Linked DNA regions of Homo sapiens: region 2 is linked to region 1. Evidence: promoter capture Hi-C in human tissues and cell types (Jung and others, 2019). All regions are on one chromosome and are shown on one strand. The core of a region is centred on a gene start or on the middle of the fragment in contact, and the rest is flanking DNA. Distances in the headings are between cores, read along the strand shown. Region 1 holds the start of DOLPP1 (dolichyldiphosphatase 1). Region 2 overlaps KYAT1-SPOUT1 (KYAT1-SPOUT1 readthrough).

Evidence for each region. Contacts are between HindIII fragments. The study calls those that stand out against the background at their distance.
Region 2: a fragment that was not itself captured here is called in contact with the fragment with the promoter of DOLPP1 in region 1 in 1 of the 25 tissues and cell types used here (dorsolateral prefrontal cortex).

What each region holds. Positions count from the first base shown.
Region 1 is chr9:129,078,260-129,083,797 of GRCh38, reverse strand. It overlaps DOLPP1 (dolichyldiphosphatase 1), which reads right to left and starts at 2,687. Exons shown (of 8, transcript NM_020438.5): 1 at 2,591-2,687. The coding sequence starts at 2,666. RefSeq lists a silencer at 2,260-2,989. The HindIII fragment of the contact is 10,069 bases long and covers 1-5,538 here.
Region 2 is chr9:128,858,061-128,863,598 of GRCh38, reverse strand. The region is part of intron 1 of KYAT1-SPOUT1 (KYAT1-SPOUT1 readthrough); the gene reads left to right. All of the region lies in intron 1 of KYAT1 (kynurenine aminotransferase 1), which reads left to right. Among named protein-coding and RNA genes, the nearest start is that of KYAT1, 21 kb to the left of the region's middle. RefSeq lists an enhancer at 1-9 and a silencer at 1,835-2,129. The HindIII fragment of the contact is 5,279 bases long and covers 66-5,344 here.

The sequences.
Region 1 (5,538 bases), core at 1,438-3,937:
GGATTCAAGCCTCAGCTCACCCACTTGTGGAATAGGGATATCAGTGCCTACCTCCTACAGCTGCATGAGACTCAATGAGATGGGACCTGTGAGACACCCAGCTTGGTCCCTGGCAACCAGGACACTTCCATGTTGGGGCAGAGGTGGAGAGAACCCAGTGTGGGAAATGGTCCATGCCACCAGCCTCACACAAGCAGCAGGGAAGTTGTCCACAGAGGGCTGAGCCCAGATTCCAGGGCTGAAGACATAGACACACACATGCCCGGTCTCATCCACACACAGGATCCTACCCAGCCCATCCTACCCAGGATCAGACTGGCCTGGAGTTGGTCTGGGAGAGCAGAGCAGCCCAGCTAAGTGCCTGGGGTCAAGTGCTGGTGCTGCCACAGTCCCACTGGGTGACAGTGGGTGAGTCCCTTCTCTTTCCTGGGCCTCTCCACTATGAAGCTCACCCTCACAGCACTGGGCTATGAAGATAGTGAGTGACTGGTACCCCCAAAGCTTTAGCCATCTCCATAGCCTGTCCCAGAGCCAGCACTACCCTGGGGTTTTCCTGAAGATGCTACCAGGGACTCTGGCCTCTCTACTCTCTGATCCAAGCCCCCTCAGGCCTCCCACTGCCCTTAGGACAAGTTCCCCCTCAGCCCAGCTCATCTGGCCCTGCACAGTCCTGGCCCTGCTTCCCTCTCAACCTCTGCTCCAGTTCCAAGGACCAAACTCGAGTTCCCTGAGCGCATCGTGCCCTGTCCTACTTCTGGACCTTTGCACACAGTTTCCCCCCACCTGGGACGCTCTCTGGGTGAACTCAACAAACAACTAAGAACCCACCACAGTGGCAAAAAAAAAGACACATATGTCCCTGCTAGTGCAGAGCTTGAGGTCTGACGGGAGAATCTGCCATCCAGACTCAGTTCATGATCCACTAATGTAGATATCAGGACAGCATCTGGGAGTAGAGACAGGGTCTCTTTATATCCCACTCTATCCCCCAAGCCCAGCACAGGGCCTGGCTCTTAACTGGGCTCAAAAACTGTTGAATGAATGAAGTAAGCAAGTGACGGTGTGAAGAGGGGTGTGACGGAGAAGTGCAGGGAACCATGGAAGCATTAATAGGGGACTAGACCTCACCAGATGCTCCAGGCTCAGCCAGGTCCATCACAGCCTGTATCATGCTGCACACAACTGCCTGCCAGGTTCCTTCTGGCTTGTTGGATTGTGAGCACTCCAAGAAGCTACTCTGAGGCCAGGAGGGGAAGCTGTGAAGGTGCAGAGGCCTTAGCAAGTCTTTCCCCACCTCCAGGCTTTGGCTTTCCTCTTATAAAGCAGCTGGTTTTCATAGTGCAGGAATGCAGGGATATTTCAGGCCTGTTAAGCATTCTAAAAACCAGAGCTAGCCCAGGGCCTAGCACTCAGAAGTGTTCAGTGGATATTGACTGAATGAATGAATGGATGAATGAATGGTAGACAGGCAGGCAGGCAGGGCCCAGGACCTGGCAGGGCCATACCACCCCCAGTACAACCCAGAACACCAGCGTCAACGTTCTTTGGCATTCAGTCCTGGTGCCCTCAGCGGACCCAGGTTCTCACATCTCGCAAGACAGCAGCATGAGCAGGCCCTTCCCAGGCAACCAGGGCTCAATGAGGGGCTCCAGCCTTCCCTGGCACTCAACCATCTTACCCAGGGAGGGTCTTGCAAGGTGGGATAACATTAACTGCAGGTATTTACTGAACGCTTACTGCATGCCGGGCACTGTACTCAGCCCTTCTTGTGCCTCCTGCTATTTGATGCTCATACCATCACCAGAAGGTAAGCACTGTAATCAGTCCCACTTTAGAGATGAATTAACTTAAGCAGAGGCAGGCACCTGCACAAGGCCTCAGCCTCAACTGGAGCCCAGATGGGTCTGACCCCCACGCCCAGGCTCTGCGCCACTCTTACTAGACAGCCTCCAGAACGCCGCTAATGGACCTCTCAACTGGAAAGCCCTGCACTTCGAGAGGTGTGTCTGATGGGAAGCAACAGAAGTCAAGTTCCCGGAGGCTGCCCGCCCCCTCATCGGGTCCTCTCTGTTGTGGAATCGTGCCCTGCTCAGGGCGTGGCACCACAAGTACTCAAAAGCCTGGCTTCGGCTTGCACACTCCCAGCAACGGGGAGCTCTTTCTCTTACAAGCAGCCCAAAGCACTGTTCGAAGGAAACAAGACACTCCCTGCACGCTGGAACAGGAGTGCGGCCTCTCTGGGACAGGGGAGGGCGGGGAAGAAGGGCCAAGGTCCAGGCCAGGGATCTTTTCTCGCCTCACACAGATCCTCAACCCATTTCAGCCCACCGGCGCCCCGGGACCCGGGGGAGCGCCCTGGCCGCGCAGCCGCAGAGTGCGCGAGCGAGCGCCTCACAATTTCGCCCAGCTCATCCTCGCACCACTGCGCCTGCGCGGCGCGCGCGCCGGCCGAGCCCCTCCGTGGTTCACTATTTGACAGTTCCCACCCCGGTCCCCCGGCGCCCCCTCCGCGGGCTCGAGCAGGCCGGAGCGCCCGGGACTGAGAGGCCGTCCCTGGGAAGGCGTCCTTGGAGCCGGGACCGCCTTTTACCTGCAGGATATTCGACGTGGGTGAGGGTCACCGGCCGCCATGAAGCGGGGAGCGAGCACTGTCCGTCCGCTGCCATCTTACCCGGAGACCGGGCTTCTTCGAGCAGCCAATGGGGAGCCAGGGGGGCGGTGGTCCTGACCTATCACGCCGGGGAGGCGCCGTGCACCCAATCGGAGGCCAATATAGGTAGCGGCGCAGCCATTCAGCGTGCAGGCCGTGGGGGCTGGCCCGAGCGGCGAATCAGAGAGCGGGGCCCCTGGGAGCCAACGAGCCGCCCCAGCTGGCGCCCAATCTGGGGCGAGCGCAGGTAGGCATCTGGCCAATCAGAGAAGGGGAGGGTTCCAGCACCGAACAGGGAGCATAACAGCCAATCAGAAGGTGAGGCTGCCTCAGCTTGTGGGCAGGGCGGGCCAATCAGGCGCTGGCTTTGGGGGCGTGTTGAACTTTGGTGGGAGCTTTGGTTCGGCTGGGACCTGCGCCCTGAATGAAGGCTTCCCTGGTACCCCCTGCCGATCCGCGGTCTTGGGGACCTGCGCGTCCGATAGCGCGTGCTCGAAGAGGAGAGGCAACCTCAGCTCCAGGGGGTTTGAACCGACCCACTTTCAGTTACGAGTAAACTGAGACCAGAGAGCAGAGGGGGCTTATTTCCCTCTGCCCCATACTGGCCGGCGAAAGGGCAAGTCACACAGAGCAGGCGACCTTTTTGTCAAAAGTGTGTGGGGCGGGGCGCGCAGTAGGCGCCCTAAACGCTGGACTGAACAGAGAAGCTTAATTGATACTTAAGAGTGGAAGCTTAGCTACAGTTAAGGACTCCTTCCTCCTTTCATTCATTTAATAAAGATTTATTGATTCAGTCACGTCTATGCTACTTAATGAGGCGTCTTGGGAGCATTTCAAACAAGAAGTCGGTTTTCCACCTACCCCTCAGTTTTCCCAAGACATTCCTGCGTGAACAGCCACACCTTCCCACCCGCCTTCACCTCTCCTACCCGACTCTGTCTCTGGCTGGATTGGATTACAGTGCAGGTAAGGTGGGCTGGGAGGGCTCAGCCTCTTGTCTCCTGCCGCTAGCATGTGCTGTTTTTGTCTGTTTGTTTGTTTTTTGAGACAGGGTCTTGCTCTGAGGCCCAGGCTGGAGTGCAGTGGAACGATCTTGCTCAGCCTCCTGGGTCCAAGTGATTCTCCTGTCTCAGCCTCCCGAGTAGCTGTGACTACAGGCGCGCACCACCGCATCCGGCTAATTTTTGCATTTTTAGTAGAGACCGGGTCTTACCATGTTGGGCAGGCTGGTCTCGAACTCCTGGCCTCAGGTGATCCACCTGCCTCGGCTCCCAAAATGCTGAGATTACAAGCGTGAGCCGCCATGCCCAGCTAATTTTTTTTTTTTTTTTTTGAGACGGAGTCTCGCTCTGTTGCCCAGGCTGGAGTGCAGTGGCACGCCCGGCTAATTTTCGTACTTTTCGTAGAGACGGGGTTTCACCGTGTTGGTCAGGATGGTCTTGATCTCCTGACCTCGTGATCCGCCCACCTCGGCCTCCCAAAGTGCTGGGATTACAGGTGTGAGCCACCGCCCCTGGCCACCATGTGCTGTTTTGCTGCGTGGGATGTACTGCCTCTCCTGCCCTACTTTGCCCGGCCCAATCTGGTTCAGGTGTCTCCTCGGCTTACAGGTTTCCACAGTCAAGTGAGGGGCCAGTACTGGGCTCTCACGGTTGCATTTCCTGTCCTTTCTCAGCCCTGACCTCACTGGACTGTAATCGGCTCCCTATCCCTCCCAGTCAGCAGCGGCTCTCAGATTCATGGAGTGCTGAGATCAGCCTGTAGAAAACACAGATTCCTGGGTCACAATGGGGCCTGGGTTGATCCAGTAGGTCTGAGTTGGAGCCCAGGTGTCTGCATTCTTATGTGCTCTGGTGGTTCTGATACAGGTGGTTACAGCCACCACTGGAGAAACCCTGGGCAACATGAGGACAGGGCCTGGTACATCCTGAGCCTGGTCCAGACCAGACCTAGAGCAAGTGTCTGATAAGTGACACGAGCGCCCCTGAGGTGAGTTGAGAATTACCCAGGAAATCCCACTGAGAGTGGCTCTTTCTGCGAGTGGCCAGGCCAGTAGAGCGGGGACCGTGAGCTGGCCTGTGTGGCCGGAGATGATGGCGACTCAGAACCCACCAAAGAGCCCAGAAGGCCCACTGCCCTGCTGTGCGCACTCCCAGCCTGGGCTCGTCGGGGTCAGCTGGCCTCGGTTTCCTCAGGCACTGTCATTATTAGCCTCTGAGAAGCAGGAGGTGTGAGGAGCGGGCCGGGAGCTTCTCAGAATAGTTCCCTGGGACAGGACAGCCATCCATGATCTGGGCCACATTGCCGCTCCCAAATAGGCCTTGGGAGCAAAGTCCATGAAATGCAGGCCTGTCAGTGCTGGGAGCCTCCCGAGGGAGGATGAGGATGAGGAACTATGAAATGAGAGGGAGTTACCCAGGGAGGGTTTTCCTGGCAGAGAGAACAGTGTAAGCCAGTGTCCTGGGGCCCGCGTGTGGCTGGATGAAGTGGGCAAGAGGGAAAGAAGGGGTAAGGTGGTGGGGAGGAGGCCCACAGGGGCCTGACCACCCGAAACTTTGAGGGCACTGTTAATGGTGGGGACAGAGGGAAGCTCTGAAGGATGGGTTTGTTGTTGGGTTTGGTTTGGTTTTCTTGTTTAAAATAGAACATTCAGGGCAGGCACCGTGACTAAACCTGTAGTCCCAGCACTTTGAGAGGCCGAGGCGGGAGGATCGCTTGAGCCCAGGAGTTCAGGACTAGCTGGGCAATACAGCAAGACTTCATCTCTACAAACAAATTTTTAAAAATTAGCCAGGCATGGTGGTGCACACCTATGGTCCCAGTTACTCGGGAGGCTGAGATGGGAGGATCACATGAGCTGGGGAGGTAAAGGCTACAGTGAGCTGTGA
Region 2 (5,538 bases), core at 1,456-3,955, 220 kb after region 1:
CCTCCTAAGTTCCTGGAACCTACCTTCACCACACCCATAAGCTCACAGACACAGACACAGAGATGTGTGCACATGCTCAGGTGCAAGCTCTTGTATTTGGATCCTTTTGTTGTTTTGGTTTTTTTTTTTGTAGAGAAAGGGTGTTGTTATGTTGCCCAGGCTAGTCTTGAACTTCTGAGCTCAAGCGATCTGCCCACCTCAGCCTCCCAAAATGCTGGGATTACAGGTGTGAGCCACCATGCCCAGCCTCCATGAATTATTATTATTTATTTCATGCATAGAAAATTGATGTTCAGAGAGGTAAAATGGCTTGCCTCATGTCACACTGCCAAGGTCATCAAAGCCTGTGTTCTAATCCTTCCCCCGTCTCTCAGCACTGCCCTCCTCCTTGTGTGTCTACTTGGGGCCTGATCCTGGGTGTGGTAATAGAACAGACCTACCCTGTGGAGGGTGCAACATAACATTCACTTCTGGCCGGGCATGGTGGCTCATGCCTGTAATCTCAGCACTTTGGGAGGCCGAGGCGGGCGGATCATGAGGTCAGGAGTTCAAGACCATCCTGGCCAACATGGTGAAACCCCATCTCTACTAAAGACACACAAAAAAATTAGCCGGGCATGGTAGCGCGCGTCTGTAATCCCAGCCACTCGGGAGGCTGAGGCATGAGAATCACTTGAACCTGGGAGGCGGAGGTTGCAGGGAGCCGAGATCATGCCATTGCACTCCATCCTGGGTGATAAAAAGATAGGGCGAGACTCTGTGTCAAAAAACAAACAAACCAACATTGACTCCTATGCCCAGTCTTACCCGGCCACACATAGGCCCGATGCACTGCCAGTCCCCTGCAATGGAAGCCGATCCTGGTTTCCAGCCCCACCCCCAAGGCTGCAAGATTGTTTAAGCATATCCGTGTGCAGCACAGGTGCCACCCAGCTTCTTGACCCCCATGGAGCCAGTGATCTGGACACACAGAAGGCACCGCCTTTCCTGAGAACTGGCAGTGCCCAGAGAAGGCAAGGGGCCAAGGCTGGGGCAGGGCAGAGAAGAGGGCCACAGCTGGGATCTGTTTCTCCTGAGTTTCTGCCCTGTGCTGGCACCAGGTGTACAATCTGCTATAAGGCCTGCAGGAGCTCAATGTAAGTGTTGTTATTTTAGTATGTTAGGAATTTCCTCACCTGTTAATGAGGGTGAGGATAGCACTTGCTTTACAGAGTTGTTGAAAGGATCCAGTGACAAAAGTATTGGGACAGAGTGAGTCCTAGTAAATTAAAGCTGGTTGTATTATTAATATTATTCTTGGCCAAGTACAGTGGCTCACATTTGTAATCCCAGCACTGGGACGCTGCGGCAGGAGGATGCCTTGAGCCCAGGAGTTTGAGACAAGCCTGGGCAACACAGTGAGACCACATCTCTACAAAAAATACAAAAATTAGCTCAATTCACTTGAGATGATGAAGACATGACTTAGAATGTTGTCACTTCAGGAAAAAAAGACTGATTTGATGGACACAGAGTCCGATGTGGGGGAGAGTGTCAGAGAGAGAATTGACCTACCAGGCAACTGTGGGTTTTTAACTCAGTGGTCAGAAAGCAGTAGAGTGGGTCCCGGTAGGGTGAAATCCAGCTCCTCCTGTAGTCCTAGAAGAAGTAGCAAGATGTTGGGTCTAGGACAGGAAATGGCTAACCTAAAGAGACCCTTTGGCCCAGGATGGTTCCCATCCCAAGACACCCCTCAGTCCTGGGCCAGCAGATAGTTGGTCTTCATAGAACAGGCAGAGGGCACAGAGTGCCTCCCATGACCAGCCCTGGGCTTGGGCCTGCCCTTGGGCCGCTCATCCGTTTAGCTGAGTTACCTGAGCTAAAGCACCAGACTCCCTCCCTTGAGGTGACACCAAGGAATGTCCCTCCTGGGATGGCAGTAACACTACCCTTTGTTGCTCAAGGCACAGGTACTTAGTTTCAGGGGTCAGAGTACATACTTCAGGCCTCTCCTGGGAACCGCTCTCAAATCTAAGGAACGAGAGGGTGAGCTCTGGCATCGCCTTGTGTGTTAGCCCATTCTCCCACTGCTATAAAGAACTGCGCAAGACTGGGTCATTTATAAAGGAAAGAGATTTAATTGACTCACAGTTCCTCATGGCTGGGGAGGCCTCAGGAAACTTAAAATCATGGCAGAAGGGGAAGCAAACACGTTCTTCACATGGCGGCAGGAGAGAGAACTGCTGAGCAAAGGGGGAAAAGCTCTTTATAAAACCATCAGCTCTCATGAGAACTCACTCATTATCGCCAGCACAGCAGCATGGGGGTAACTGCCCCCATGATTCAATTACCTCCCACTGGGTCCCTCCCAGGACACGTGGGAATTATGAGAACTGCAATTCAAGATGAGATTTGGGTGGGGACACAGCTCAACCCCATCACCTTGGATTTGATTCCTAAGGCTGTTGTAACAAACTAGCCACACTTCATTGTATTGCGTTTGGCAGATATCACGGTCTTTGCAAATTGAAGCTTTGTGAGAACCTTGCACCAAGCAAGTCTATTGTTCCCATTGTTCCAACAGAATGTGTTCCCTTAGGGTCTGTGTGTAATTCCCACAATAGTTCAAACTTTATCATTATTATTATGTCTGACACGGTGATCTGTGATCAGTGATCTTTGATATTACTATTGTGCTTGTTTTGGGGAACCACAAACCATGCCCATATAAGATGGTAAACTTAATAAATGCGTGTGGGCCGGAGGCAGTGGCTCACAACTGTAATCCCAGCACTTTGGGAGGCCGAGGTGGGCAGATCACCTAAGGTCAGGAGTTCGAGACCAGTCTGACCAACATAGTGAAACCCCATCTCTACTAAAAATACAAAAATTAGCCAGGCATGGTGGAATGCGACTGTAATCCCAGTTACTTAGGCTGAGGCAGGAGAATCGCTTGAACCCAGGAGGCGGAGCTTGCAGTGAGCCGAGATTGCGCAACTGCACTCCACCCTGGGCGACAAAGCAAGACTCCGTTTCAAAAAAAAAAAAAAAAGGCTGAACAAACTGAAAAACCAGCGGCTCTTTTTCAGTTCATCAGAAAATTAGGTCACAGGGTAACCTGCTGCCCCCAAACTGGAGAGGCAGAAAGGTAGATACAGAGAATCATGATTTGCCAGAGCAGAAACCTTCCCTGGAATCAGCACCTGGGTGGGAAAACCTGAACTGCAACTGACGAATGTCTGGCAGCGTGGATGTGTGCTGCTGGTTAATGTTAGGTGGCAGCTGGACTGGAGTAAGGAATACCTAGAGAATGGTGAAACATGACTTCTGGGTGTGTCTGTGAGGGTGTTTCCAGAGGAGATTGGCGTGGGAGTCAGTGGACTGAGTGGGGAAGATCCGCTCTCAATGTGGGTGGCAGTATGCAATTGGTTCACGGCTTGAATAAAAACAAAAGAGGAGAAAATTTTCCTCTTTCTGTCTCTGTCTCTCCTGGAGCTGGAAGATTCTCCTTCTCCTGCCCTTTGGATATCAAAACTCTAGGCTCTTCAGCCTTGGACTGAGAATTATCCCAGTGGCGTCCCTGGTTCTGAGGCTTGCAGACTTGGACTGAGCCACGCTACTGGCACCTCTTGCAAATAGTCTCTCAGGGGACTTCTCAGCCTCCATTAATTGCGTGAGTCAATTTCCCTATAAATCCCCTCTCATGCACTTTGGGAGGCCGAGGCGGGTGGGTCACGAGGTCAGGAGATCGAGATCATCCTGGCTAACACGGTGAAACCCTGTCTCTACTAAAAATACAAAAAATTAGCTGGGTGTGATGGCGGGCACCTGTAGTCCCAGCTACTTAGGAGGCTGAGGCAGGAGAATGGTGTGAACCTGGGAGGCAGAGCTTGCAGTGAGCCGAGATCGCGCCACTGCGCTCCAGCCTGGGCAACAGAGCGAGATTCTGTCTCAAAAAAAAAAAAAAATGGCTGGGCAAGGTGGCTCACCAGCACGATCTCGGCTCACTGCAACCTCCACCTCCTGGGTTCAAGCAATTCTCCTGTCTCAGCCTCCTGAGTAGCTGGGAGATTACAGGCATGCGCCACCACACCCAGCTAATTTTTGTATTTTTAGTAGAGATGGGGTTTCACCATGTTGACCAGGCTGGTCTCAAACTCCTGACCTCAGGTGATCCACCCACCTCAGCCTCCCAAAGTGCTGGGATTACAGGCAGGAGCCACTGCACCCAGCTGAGAGTAACTTTTTTTTTTGTTGTTGAGACGGAGTCTCCCTCTGTTGCCCAGGCTGGAGTGCAGTGGCGCGATCTCAGCTCACTGCAGGTTCAGCCTCCTGGGTTCACGACATTCTCCTGCCTCAGCCTCCCGAGTAGCTGGGACTACAGGTGCCCACCACCACACCTGGCTAATTTCTGTATTTTTAGTAGAGACAGGGTTTCGCCGTGTTAGCCAGGATGGTCTCGATCTCCTGACCTCGTGATCCGCCTGCCTTGGCCTCCCAAAATGCTGGGATTACAGGCGTGAGTCACCGTGCCTGGCCAAGGGTAACTATTTTTAAGTATGCCAGAGCATTCCTCCAAAATACTCTTTTTCTTTCTTTTCTTTTCTTTGCTTTTTTTTTTTTTTTGAGATGGAGTCTTGTTCTGTCACCCAGGCTGGAGTGCAACGCACAATCTCAGCTCACTTTAGCCTCCAAGCAATTCCCTTGCCTCAGCCTCCCGAGTAGCTGGGATTACAGGTATGAGCCACCATGTCCAGCTAATTTTTGTGTTGTTAGTACAGACAGGATTTCACCGTGTTGGCCAGTCTGGTCTCAAACTCCTGACCTCAAGTGATCTGCCCACCTCAGCCTCCCGAAGTGCTGGAATTATAAGCGTGAGCCACCGGGCCTGGCCTAAAACATTCTTTTTCTTTTTTTGTTTTTTGAGATGGAATTTCACTTTTGTTGCCCAGGCTGGAGTGCAATGGTGCAGTGGCTCACTGCAACCTCCGACTCTCGGATTCAAGTGATTCTCCAGTCTCAGCCTTCCAAGTAGCTGGGATTACAGGTGCATGCCATCACGCCTGGCTAATTTTTGTAGTTTTAGTAGAGATGGGGTTTCATCATATTGGTCAGGCTGGTCTCAGACTCCTGACCTTAGGTGATCTGCCCGCCTTGGCCTCCCAAAGTGCTGTGATTACAGGTATGAGCCACCATGCCCGGGCTTTTTTTTTTTTTTTTTTTTATACATGGTCTCACTCTGTTGCCCAGGCTGGAGTGCAGTGGAGCAATTTTGGCTCATTGCAACCTCTGCCTCCTGAGCTCAAGCGATTCTCGTACCTCAGCCTCCTAAGTAGCTGGGACTACAGGTGCATGTGACTTCGCCCAGCTAATTTTTGTATTTTTGGTAGAGATGGGGTTTTGTCGTGTTGGCCAGGCTGGTCTCAAACTCCTGACCTCAGGTGACCCACCCACCTCAGCCTCCCAAAGTGCTGGGATTACAGACGTGAGCCACCGTGCCCAGCCTTGGCTGTTTGTGTATCTTTTTTGGAAACATTCAGATTTATGATTTGCAGATAT